Linked DNA regions of Homo sapiens: region 1 is linked to region 2. Evidence: promoter capture Hi-C in 16 types of primary human blood cells and fetal thymus (Javierre and others, 2016). All regions are on one chromosome and are shown on one strand. Each heading gives the region's core, a stretch centred on a gene start or on the middle of the fragment in contact. The rest is flanking DNA. Distances are from core to core; before and after follow the strand shown.

Region 1 (6,122 bases), core at 1,043-3,542, 33 kb after region 2:
GCTGGGATTACAGGCACCTGCCAGCCTCAGCTTCTCTAGTAGCTGGGAGTACAGGCACCTGCCACCATGCCTAATTTTCATATTTTTAGTAAAGACGGGGTTTCACCACGCTGGCCAGGCTGGTCTCGAACTCCTGACCTCAGGTGATCCACCTGTCTGGGCCTCCTGCAGTGCTAGGATTACAGGCATGAGCCACCACGCCTGGCTAACATCCATAGCTCTTACAAATAGAGCCAGAACATGGCCAGGCGCAGTGGCTCATGCCTGTAATCCCAAAACTTTGGGAGGCCGAGGCGAGTGGATCACTTGAGGTCAGGAGTTCGAGACCAGCCTGCCTAACATGGTGAAACCCCATCTCTACTAAAAATACAAAAATTAGCCGGGCATGGTGGCCTGTAATCCCAACTACTTGGGAGGCTGAGACAGGAGAATCGCTTGAACCCAGGAGGCAGAGGTTGCAGTGAGCTGAGATCATGCCACTGCATTCCAGCCTAGTTGACAGAGCAACACTCCATCTCAAAAAACAAAACAAAACAAAAACAAACAAACAAAAAACAAAGAGAGCCAGAATGACCACATGGCCCAGTGAATGGAGCAGGTCAGGCAGATTGGAGACCTGAACTGTTGTGTCAGCGTGGCCACTAACTGTGGCTGGTCACTATCTCTGAACCTTGGTTTTTCACATGTTAACTGATGGAGTTGCTGGATCTTTTTTTTTTTTTTTTTTTTTTTTTTTTTCAGAGATGGTATCTCACTATGTTGCCTAGGCTGATCTTGAACTCCTGGGTTCAAGTGGTCCTCCCACCCTGGCCTCTCAAAGTGTTGGGCTTACAGGTGTGGGCCACTGCGCCCAGCCTAGTTGCTGGATCTTGACTGTGGTTAGTCTGTCTCACTGTGCCAAGTGAAATGCTGCCAGTCACGCCCAGGCCTTGCACATCTGTTCCTGTCCCATCTGGAAGGAACACTCTTTCCAAGATGGTCTGTCTGAATTGTCATTCCTTCCCCTAGACCATGAGCTCCTCGCAGGCAGAGGTGGTCTTGTTCATTGCTGGATCCCTGGCATCTTGGGGGATGCAGGTGTTTGTTGAATGAATGAATGAATGAATGAATGAATAGATGAATGAGTGAGTGTGGTCTCTCTGTCACAGGATAGAACACCTGGGACTCAATGTGGTGCTGCAGCTGCTGGTGGGGGTGCCCCTGGAGATGGTGCATGGAGCCACCCGAATTGGGCTTGTCTACGTGGCCGGTGTTGTGGCAGGTAGGCAGGTAGGCCCCGTGTCCACAAAGGCACACTGCCCCAGGGTGGGGTGGGAGACCCTGTGGGGCGGGGCAAGCCCCAGGTTTCCAGGACACACAGAAGATCCTCATCTCCAAGGCTCCTGACTTAACCAGGCTGTCCTCCAGGCACACCCACCTCCCTATGAGGCTGGAGAACGGACTGCTGCCCATAGAGGGAGGTGTGTGGCAGGACGGGGGAGGAGAGCACTGGATTTGGGACAGGCTGGACAACCGACTCTCGGTCTCACACCACCATGTGGTAGCTCTCTGAGCTTGGGGAAATTTCCTAACCTCTTTTGGCCATGTTAAGCTTTAAGAGGGAACTAATGAGATCTGCCTGTAGGGTTGCCAGGAGGGCAGAGTGAGTGAGGCAACAGATGGAACAACAGTGCTCCGAAAACTGCAAGGGCACAGTGAGATCCCCACAGGGGAATCAAAGGGGTGAGTGGAGCCAGGTACCACCCTGGCCACGTAGCACCTGTCCCCAAAAAGAGAGCTGGCTGCTACCCAGACCAACCGCAGTCCCCTTGCCTGACCCACTGCTGACAGGGAGTCTGACCTAAGAGGCAGTGAGCCCTGGCTCCATCTGAAGGCATCTGGGCCTCCAGCTGAGTGGGCACACGTGTGGCCAGTGATCATCCTTCATGGATAGTGGCCAGAGTGACTCCCAGTGAGCCTTCCACCTTCTGCCCCCTCCCCAGTGGGAGGTGAGGTGGGTGAAGTTAGCTGGGGAGAGCACGGATTTCTGCAGGAAGCGTCTGCCAGCCAGGCCTCTGAACATGAGGATCTCCCTCGTGATGTCTCCAACTTTATTGCCGGCTGTTTTTTTTTTTTTTTTTAACAAGGTTTGCCGCCTCAGCTCTTCAGCTTGACAGCTGTGCCCAAGGGAGCTTTGTGTGTATGTTTAAGTAAGATCTTAATCCTTTCTGAGTGGTATTAAAGTTGTCATCAGGAGAGCCGGGCAGCGTCAGCCTTGTAAACAACAGGCAGGCAGGGACCCTGGGAGTAACTGAAGTGGTTTCAGAAATCAAAGAGGAAGGGTCCCACCCCACCCACACGAGGCTGGTCTGCTAGTGCATGAACCCTTGGCCTGGGAGATTCACCCTGCACCATCTCCTTTGCTCCTGTATGCGCTGAGGTTAAAATCGTTGGCCACCTTGGTCAGCACCCCTGCAAGCCCCTCCCAGAATCCAAGGCTCACCACGTCCTTGAATAAAGGGCTAATGAGCATCTCTAAGTGCCAGACTTGTTCAGCCACCCACACACCCCCTAATCCTGACATCTGAGGATTGATAGCCTCATTTTCCATACCTCAATACCCAGAGACCCAGATGTTAAATAGCAAGGAACAGGGAAGACATTAATAACATTTGCAGTTAGTATTCAATTAGATGGGAATGCCAATAACCTAGAAGACAAAAATAAGATTCAAATGGACTCAGACCTCACCCAAACCAGGTGACATGCAGTGGGGAGACAGAGTAGGTGTCACCTCCCCAGTGACACCAGTGCAGAGTGGGAAGATTCAAACAGAAGCAGAGCTCATCACCTGAATGTGAGCATGTAGGGCTGTATCATTGAGCACATGGCGTGCACTGTTCTGTCTGAGTCAGTGATTAAGACCAGAGGGCACTCTGGTCACCACACATGTCATTGATCTCCATGATTGAGTTGATTGATCTGTCTCTGCTGTCTACCCTTTCCTGTCCTCCCAAGCTTTCCTCTGAGAGGTGAGCCGGTTTACAGCCAGCCAGCCCTAGATTGGACGGGTGGCACTTATCAGTGCCTACCATATGCAGGCCGTAATTCATCCACACAGCAACGCTACGAGGTGGGCACTGCTGCTCTCCCCCAGCACAGATATGGAAACCAAGGCTTAGATGGCTAAGTGGCTCGCCCAAGAAGACACAGCTAGAAAGTGGTGGAGCTGGGCAGGGTCTGACCCCCAAGGCTGTGATCTCAACCACTATAATAGTATGACGAGAACCAAAAGGTGGTCCTTGTCCTTTTTGCAGTTAATTTATTGTCAGAAACCAAGGCAGACCAGGTGCAGTAGCTCACACCTGTAATCCCAATACTTTGGGAGGTCAAGGCAGGAAGATCGCTTGAGCCCAAGAGTTCCAGGCCAAGCTGAGCAACATAGGGAGACCCTGTCTCTACAAAAAGTTTTTTAAAAATTAGCTGGGCATGGTGGTGTAGGCCTGTAGTCCCACCAGCTACTTGGGAGGCTGATGCAGGAGGATCGCTTGAGCCCAGAAGTGCAAGGCTGCAGTGAGCTGTGATAACACCACTGCACTCCAGCCTGGGTGACAGAGCAAGAACCTGTCTCAAAAAAGAAAAAAAGAAAAAAACCAAAGGAGACCTTAATAGATGTCTGGCAGCCTTACTCTCTAATTCCTTCCCAGTGAAAGTGTTTCCAATCCACACTTTGTAATGAGGATAGCTAACCTCTATGGGGCATATACATGCTCCAGGCATATGATGAGGGGTTTGCGGATGATCGTGGATGCTATGCTCATCACTGCTGTCCTATATGGTGGGTACTACCACTCCCATTTTACAGGCAGCCCAGGGAGGTGAAATGACTTGCAGATTTGCTTACCTGAAAAGTACTAGAACTAGGGAGGAGCCCTTCCCAAGCCCTGTGCTTCTTTCCTTTTTTTTTTTTGATTTTGAGACGGAGTCTCACTGTGTCACCCAGGCTGGAGTGCAGTGGCATGATCTCGGCTCACTGCAACCTCCGCCTCTTGCGTTCAAGCAATTCTCTGCCTCAGCCTCCTGAATAGCTGGGATTGCAGGTGCCCACCACCGCGCCCGGCTAATTTTTTTGTATTTTTAGTAGAGACGGGGTTTCACCGTCTTGGCCAGGTTAGTATTGAACTCCTGACCTCATGATCCACCCGCCTTGGCCTCCCAAAGTGCTGGGATTACAGGCGTGAGCCACTGCGCCTGGCAGCCCCCTGTGCTTCTTTCTAACCAATGCTTGAGGCCAATGTGAAAATCACTTATGGCTAGCAATTATATGGCACACAATGTAGGTATTTTAAAAACCAGTATCTTGGGCCGGGCAAAGTGGCTCACTCCTGTAATCCCAGCACTTTGGGAGGCTGAGGTGAGGGGATTGCTTGTGGCCAGAAGTCAAGACCAGCCTGGGCAACATAGTGAGACCCCCATCTCTACCAAAAAAAAAAAAATCAATATCACCAATCTTATATTATAGATTATATAGATTACTAACCACGTGTGCATCCCCAGGGCCTAGCACAGGGCTTGGCACATGTTAGGCAATAAATATTTATAGAATAAAGGAAAGTTGGCGGGCATGGTGGCTCACACCTGTAATCCCAGCACTTTGGGAGGCCGAGGCGAGCAGATCACATGAGATGGGGAGTTTGAGACCAGCCTGGCCAACATGGTGAAACCCTGTCTCTACTGAAAATACAAAAATTAGCTGGGCATGATGGCAGCCACCTGTAATCCCAGCTACTCAGGAAGCTGAGGCAGGAGAATTGCTTGAACCCAGGAGGCGGTGGTTGCAGTGAGCAGAAATCTCATCATTGCACCCCAGCCTGGGCAACAAGAGTGAAACTCTGCCTCAAAAAAAAAAAGGAAAGATACGTAAATAAAGTTACATTACTTAAAGATAAATGTTCTGCCAATTTTTATTTGGATTTTTTTTAAGGCCAAAGAAGATGTTGAAGAACACCTGCTTTAAAATTTTCTGGGCTAAAATTATCACAGCTGTACCTTATGGCAAAGTTGCCAGTTTATCTGTGTGCTGGCATGACCTCAGAATTTTGGGGTGCAGGATACAGAATTTGTAATCCTGATGAGAACTAAGGCCCATGGTTTGCCTCTGTGCAGAGGTGTGGCATGTCACTCCAGTTTGCCATTCTCTCCTAGTCCTCTGCCTCCATGACCTCTGTGGAATTCATACTGGTCTTATCTGCCTGTACCTGTTAGGATTGTTCAGAGCTCTGGAGGGGATTCCTCCCTGGCCCACACTTCCTGCCCGGGGAGGGCCTTTATTACTGTGTTTATGTGTACACAGCCCCATGTTTGTCTTTGGTCTCTCCCAGTTGCTCTAGTCCAGGCCTCACCTGCAGTCACTTGAAAGTCTGCTTTTTTTTAGTTTTTTGGAGTTTTTTTTGAGACGAAGTCTTGCTCTGTCATCCAGGCTGGAGTGTAGTGGCACGATCTCGGCTCACTGCAACCTCTGCCTCCCAGGTTCAAGCGATTCTTGTGCCTCAGCATTCCGAGTAGCTGGGGGGCTATATGCATGCGCCACCATGTCCAGCTAATTTTTGTATATATATATATATATATATTTTTTTTTAGTAGCAATGGGGTTTCACCATGTTGGCTAGATTGGTCTCGAACTCCTGACCTCAGGTGATCTGCCTGCCTCAGCCTCCCAAAGTGCTGGGATTACATAAGGGGTGAGCCACCCCACCTGGCCCAAAAGTCTTTATATCACCAATGTGGGGGCAGGTGGATTCAGGCCGTTACCTTTGAGGTTCCAGAATCGGGACCCGAGCCGCGGCCCCTGGATCTTAGGCCAAGACTCAGGTCACTGAATTTCTGATCTGGAAGGAACCAGGGAGGTCCCCTCCAGCACTGGCAAACTGTTCTCTAGGCCCCATCCCCACTTAGCCAGAGCTGCTGCCTGTGTTCTGCTCCATGGGTTAGGGCGTCCCTGAAAAGTTTCCTTTGAAGAGAGTTTTGCTGCTCAAAAGTCAGAAAGCCTTAGACCTCATTTTATAGACATGAAAGAAAACCGAAGCCCAAAGAATTCAGGGACTGTGCCCAAGGTCACACAGCTAGCTGGCCAGGCCCCTTCC
Region 2 (5,846 bases), core at 1,366-3,865:
AATGTTCCTAGGGACAGAAGGAGGAACAAGATAGCCTTCTGGATGTTTCCCATCTTCCCTCTCCCTTTTATTCTAACTGCTGCCGCCCTTGTGACCTCTTCCTTGGACAGCACCTCTCATGGCCCTCTGCTCAGGCCAACCTCCCTCCTGTCTAGACTCTACACTACAGCCAAAGGGATCTTTTTTGTTTGTTTTGAGACGGAGTCTCACTCTGTCGCCCAGGCTGGAGTGCAGTGGCAGATCTCGGCTCACTGCAAGCTCCGCTTCCTGTGGTCAAGTGATTCTCCTGCCTTAGCCTCCCGAGTAGCTGGGATTACAGGCGCCCACCACCACGCCCGGCTAATTTTTTGTATTTTTTTAGTAGAGACAGGGTTTCAACGTGTTAGCCAGGACGGTCTCGATCTCCTGACCTCGTGATCCGCCCGCCTTGGTCTCCCAAAGTGCTGGGATTACAGCCGTGAGCCACCGCGCCTGGCCAGGGATCTTTTAAATATTACTCTACTGCTCACAATCCTTCAATGGCTCCCTATTGCCCTTAGGTAAAGTCCAAGCTCTTTTCCCATGAAACTCACAGCCCCTCACAACCTTCCCGTCCAGGCTGGGCTCTTTAGATTGGTCATCGTGCTCCAGTTTCCAGCCATGCCAAACTGCTTGTCGTTTGCCTCCCATATGATGCTGCTCCACAAGCCTGGTCGTGCTGTTCCCTCTACCTGGAACACCTCCTTCACCTTTTCCATGTTGCCTAGTTCTGGAGGCTTATCCTTTGGGAAGCCTTCCTGGACCCACAGCGACCCCCTCCTTTGGAGTTCTACACCTTCTGGGCTTCCCTTGAATCCAGGACTTACCCTTGTGTTGAATGTGACTGTCACCCCCAATTATCCATTTCTGGAGGGCAGGGTCTGGTTCTTATCCACCTCTGTATTCTCAAAGCTCTGTCATTGGTACTTAGTAGGAGCTTAATACATGTTCAGGAACAGAACTGAGCCTGCTAAGCTCCCTTCCCCACGAAGGGATGACAGAGTTGGATATGTTGATAAGAGCTGTCCCTGGGCTGATGAAGAGGCAGCTCCCTGGGTAGCTGGTATCAGAACACTGTCCAGGGTGGCTGGGCATCCCAGCAGAGTGGCCAACCCTTTTCTGTGCCCTTCTCCTTCCAGTTCCCCTGGAACCAGACTTCCTGGCCCACTTCTCTAGTCCCAGAGATCTAAGTATAACAGAGCCAACACCCATACCGGTCATGCAAATGACAGCCTGGGATGCGGGAGGCAGCGACACAGACCCCAGGGCCCCAGCGGTCATTTGTCCTTCTGGGCTCCTCTTCACAAAGGAATCAGCCTCTCTTCTGTCCCCTGAAGGCTGTTTTCAAAATCACACCCCATGCAGACAGTTTTATTTACAAGGAAATCTTGGCAGGATCTTGACTTGTTAGTAGAGTAGGGATGGGGAGGAGGGTGGTGAGAAACAAAAATAGTTGAAATGATCACACTTTCTGAAACAGAGATGAAAATTGGTGTCTGTAGCAAACTCACCTAATTAGAATCAAGTGAATTCCCTTCTCGGTGTTTAAGGGGAGCAGTCATTGCTGGGTGATGGTCGCAGTTCGGATCCTGGGCACGGGGTTATGTCTTTGCTTTCTGAAGATGACTGCATTAGTTGCAGCTCTCACTAATGGAAAGGAGCCTGTTCCGTTTCCCAGAGGAAGGAAGAGGGCAAAGACTAGTGAGTGAGTGGGTGGTGGGAAGAGGAAAGCAAGAGGAGTGGAAGGGCACAGCCTTGGTGTGGGCTGGGGACTGACTGCGAGATGCCTCCTGGAGAAGCTCCTGAGCCTCTGGGGAGAGCTGGCCCCTGCCAGGCCGGCCACTAGCACCATTTACAGCCAGAGCCTCTGCTTCGGGAGATGGTCTCTCTTGGGGGCGCTTTCCTGCAGGGAAACAGCATCGATTGTTTTCTTTAAAAGATCCCCTACTCCGTTTTGGCTAACTTCCTTTCTGATTGCTTTAGTTTCTTTACCGTCCCTCTCCCCAGATGGGGCATTTCCCTGGGCTTACCTTTGTCCATGTGGTCAAATGAAGCCTGGGCATGGTCACTTAGCTCTGGGTGTAGGAAGGGCAAGATTTAGGCTTTGGGGCCCACGACCCCGCAATCTGACTTCTCCCATTTCTGGGCCTCCCGAGACCTCCCAGAATCTGAGACCGCAGTGAATAGGGCGTAAGGATAATGGGGCGGGAGGCAGGAATCCCGTCCTTACAACATCGCGCCCCCAATTCACTCCTAGTTAACCCTGACGTCGCCAACATAGTGTCTCCATCACATATCTGCCACCTCCAAGTGATGGTTAAGCCGATGGAAGAGCCAAGCCCGGGCCCGGAGTGCAGGCCGGTGGTGACCGGGCCGGGGACGGCGCAGTCCCCATCCCCGCCCCGGGCAGCGCCACCACTTCCTCGCCAGCCCCGCCGCAGCCCTCCCGCTCCCGGGCCGCGCCGCTCTGACCGACTGGGCCCGGGTGGCGGCGCCCGGGGTGGGGTGCGGGGCGGGGGCCGGCGTTCCCCGCGAGCAGCCCCGCCCCCGCCCGCGCGCCGCCCCCGAGGACTCCGCGGGGAGGAGGAGACTCGGGCGCAGAGCGGGGGCCGCGAGAAGCGGGAAGGGAGCGCGGGGAGCGGCGGGGCCGGGGCCGGCCCAAGGGCGCCCTCGCCTCGGAGCCGGGCGCGAGGGCCGGGGCGGAGGCGGAGGCCGGCGGGGCAGCTAGCGCAGTGAAGTTTGGCGGCGGAGGGGCCGGGCGTCCCGGGGTCGCGAGGAGGCGGCGGCGGCGCGGGGACCGGGGCCATGGGGGCGGGCGCGGGCTGCGGAGCGGGCGCGGAGGCGGCGCGGCGCGCACTGAGCCCCTGGAGCGGCGCGGCCGCCGCGGCGCAAAGTTAGCCCGGCGCCCCGGGACGAGCCCCGCAGCCGCCGCCGCCCCCGGACCCCGTCTCGGCCATGGGCGAGCACCCCAGCCCGGGCCCCGCGGTGGCCGCCTGCGCCGAGGCGGAGCGCATCGAGGAGCTGGAACCCGAGGCCGAGGAGCGGCTGCCCGCGGCGCCGGAGGACGTGAGTGCCCCCTCCCCGCCCGGCAAACTTTCTAGGGGGCGCCGGGGGGAAAAGCCGCCCCTGTCTCGCCCCACGCCGGGCAACTTGGAGGTTTCAGGGTGACGCGGGAGCGCCCCGGATTGGCCGGGTCCCCGCGGGCAGGAGGGGGCGGAGGGACCGGTCTCCCCGAAACGCGCGCGCACCGCTTCCCCCGCTCTGGTTCCCGCGGCTTCCCTGCGGGACACAGCACCGCCACTGCGCCGCGGACCTGTCACCGCCGGAGCCCCCTCCCCGCCGCTGGTGCAGTGCCCGGGACACGGCGTTTTCCCGCAGAGGCGGCCGCGTCACGGCGGTGACTCCCCCTCCCCTCACGCCCGCGACCTGCGAGCTCCCGGAGCTGGGGAAGGAGCGGACGCCGCAGAGTCCCCGTCCCTGGCCATGCAAGCCGGCCTGGCGACCCCTTCCTCCGCTCCCGGATTAGCTCCCGCCCGGCACCTGCCTTGCCGCGACACTGATTGAAATTCAAGCCGGCCCCCGCCTCTGACCCCGGCCGGAGCAGGGAGGCAAAGAGTGCTGGGAGCGGCTTTGCTCCTAGAAGGAGGCCCGGGAGTCCAAGACCGTGGCGGTGCCAGGGGACGGTCCCCTGGGCGAGGAGAGGGAGGGGCTGCCCCGAGGGCTTCCCCGCCGTCTGCTGCTCGGGTCTCCATCCCTCCGGTCCTGCGGGCCGGCCCTGCGAAGCCCTGGGAACTGGAGTTTCTTGGGTTAACCTCCCGGGGCTAACCTACACATAGGGGTGAAAAACCGGGCAGACACCCTGCCCTGCCCACTCCTCCCTCAGGGTGGGGAGATGGAAGTGAAACCAGGCCCCCAACCCACACAACGAAAGCGGGAAAGTCTGAATGGGGTTGGGGGGTAGTTTACGATCTTCTCTCTTTGGCGTCTGCGGTTAAATCTATCACTTCCTTCTGGCCCTAAACCCCTGGCAGAATCTGATGTAGTCACCACTTAGACTCAGCCTTGGAAGAGAATGGGTGGGCTTCACCGCATTCGGCATTCACCACCCCCCCTTCCCCGCAAAAAAACAAAAAACGAACAAACAAACAAAAAACTGCAGGCAAAATGTTAGTGTTTATGCAGAGGTGAGTTCTCCTGGGGGGGGAGGGGGGGGCTCTAGCTCCCAGCAGGTGAGACTCATTGCGCCGGGGTCTGATGGAATTGCACCTGGCCATGCTCTCCCAGGCCTGGGAGTAGCTGTGGACATAAGCTTTAGGCAGCAGAAATTATTAGAGGCGCTTGGACATATTTGGACGCCTTTATTTAGTAATTGTTGAGAATCACTTGTTCTGCCAGTTCCAGAACCAGCAACACCCACCTTGCCGCCCCCGCCCCCACCCCATCCCTTACTGTGAGTTTCCTCCCTCTGCTCAGTGTGGACTCATTGGGGAGCTCCTCCCAGACTTCCCCTGCTCTCCTGTGGCCAGTCCCTGAGCCTGGTCATGACTCCTGGGCAGCCGCTGGGAGGCTATGTCAGAAACATCCGAGGACTACAGAGACCTTGGTGATAAGTGTGTCTTTCTTTCTCTCCTCTTCTTCCTCTCCTGCATGGCCTCCCTCTCTGCCAGCACTGGAAAGTCCTGTTTGATCAGGTATGTGAGCAGTTAACCCCCCATTTCCTTCCAGCCCTCCCTGAAATCGGTCTCAGTCTCCCTGCTTGCGTGGGCTTCCCTAGCTCCGCGCTCCTGAGATGGTGACGTGGGGTGGGGGTGTGGCTTTGTGCATCTCTAGGGCTGAACGACACTGCTCTCCAGGTATCAGGAGGAAGAGATGGGCTCCCCTGAGAGGATCTCCCTCCTGCCTCCTCCCTACTCTGCTGCACCAGAGCCGGGTTTACACCATGTAGAAATTGGACGTTATATATTGAATGCCTGGGAAATCCTCCATATGCCAGGGGATTGCAGTAGGGGGCTGGAGAGGTGGGGGAAGGGCTTGGGCTGACAATCCCTCTCCGTTTCTACCTCCACTATGGAGGGTCCATGGCCACCGCTGAAGTCAAATCTCTGCCATCCTTGGGGGCTGACTCACAGTATGGACTCTTTTGAAGTCTAATTCAATGTCTTTAATTCTGTCATAGGGATGAGGGAGTGCTGGGAGGTTACAGAGGGGAAATTGTGTGTGATTCTTCGCAATGCCTGGAGTCCAGGTGTAGGGCATGGAGTTGGGGGTGCCAAGTATTGGCTTTTGAACCTGGAGATGGACATTTGACCTTCAGCAAGGAAATGGTTCTCCTCTTAGCATTCGTGGTGGGTGCTGTTATGTGCTTCCTTCTCCCTCTTTGCCCCATGTTGGAGGATAGTTGAGTGCTATAGTCCTGGGGTGAGAATGATTGTGCCATGAAGTTTGTGCAACTTTAAGAAATTGGTGTGAGTGGGCCAGAGGGAATGTGTTGGGTAGGAGAAGGAGATAAAGCTGAAAAATTAGCTTGAACCAGGACTTCGTTGTAGGCAGGGGAAGCCTTAGAAAGTTTTTTAGCAGGGTTGTTATGTGATCCAAGCCAGGCTTGGGAAAGCTCCAGTGTCTTAGGGGATAAGGAGTGAATGGGCTACGGGGATGAGGGAAGCTAGGCAGGAGCTGCAGCACTGAACAGAGGCAAGAAGGTGACAGTGAGGATGGACGGGAAGAGGGACATGGTGATGGAAGAATTGGAAGATCTTAATAGACCGTAGGTGAGGGGAACCACATATCTAACTTTGAGATTCTGAACCTAGGAGGGAAAGAAGTTGGAG

What was found. Contacts are between HindIII fragments. The CHiCAGO score rates a contact against its expected background, and 5 or more counts as called.
Region 1: a contact is called between a fragment that was not itself captured here and the fragment with the promoter of RHBDL3 in region 2, in 3 of 17 cell types (M1 macrophages, M0 macrophages and megakaryocytes). The highest score is 5.5, in M1 macrophages.

What each region holds. Positions count from the first base shown.
Region 1 is chr17:32,296,944-32,303,065 of GRCh38, forward strand. It overlaps RHBDL3 (rhomboid like 3), which reads left to right. Exons shown (of 9, transcript NM_138328.3): 6 at 1,149-1,261. Among named protein-coding and RNA genes, the nearest start is that of RHBDL3, 34 kb to the left of the region's middle. RefSeq lists enhancers at 1,435-2,065, 5,582-6,122. The HindIII fragment of the contact is 1,406 bases long and covers 1,590-2,995 here.
Region 2 is chr17:32,263,217-32,269,062 of GRCh38, forward strand. It overlaps RHBDL3 (rhomboid like 3), which reads left to right and starts at 2,616. Exons shown (of 9, transcript NM_138328.3): 1 at 2,616-3,084; 2 at 4,686-4,709. The coding sequence starts at 2,974. It overlaps LOC105371731 (a long non-coding RNA gene), which reads right to left and starts at 2,235. Exons shown (of 3, transcript XR_934665.2): 1 at 2,049-2,235; 2 at 1,530-1,680. The HindIII fragment of the contact is 5,065 bases long and covers 1-4,325 here.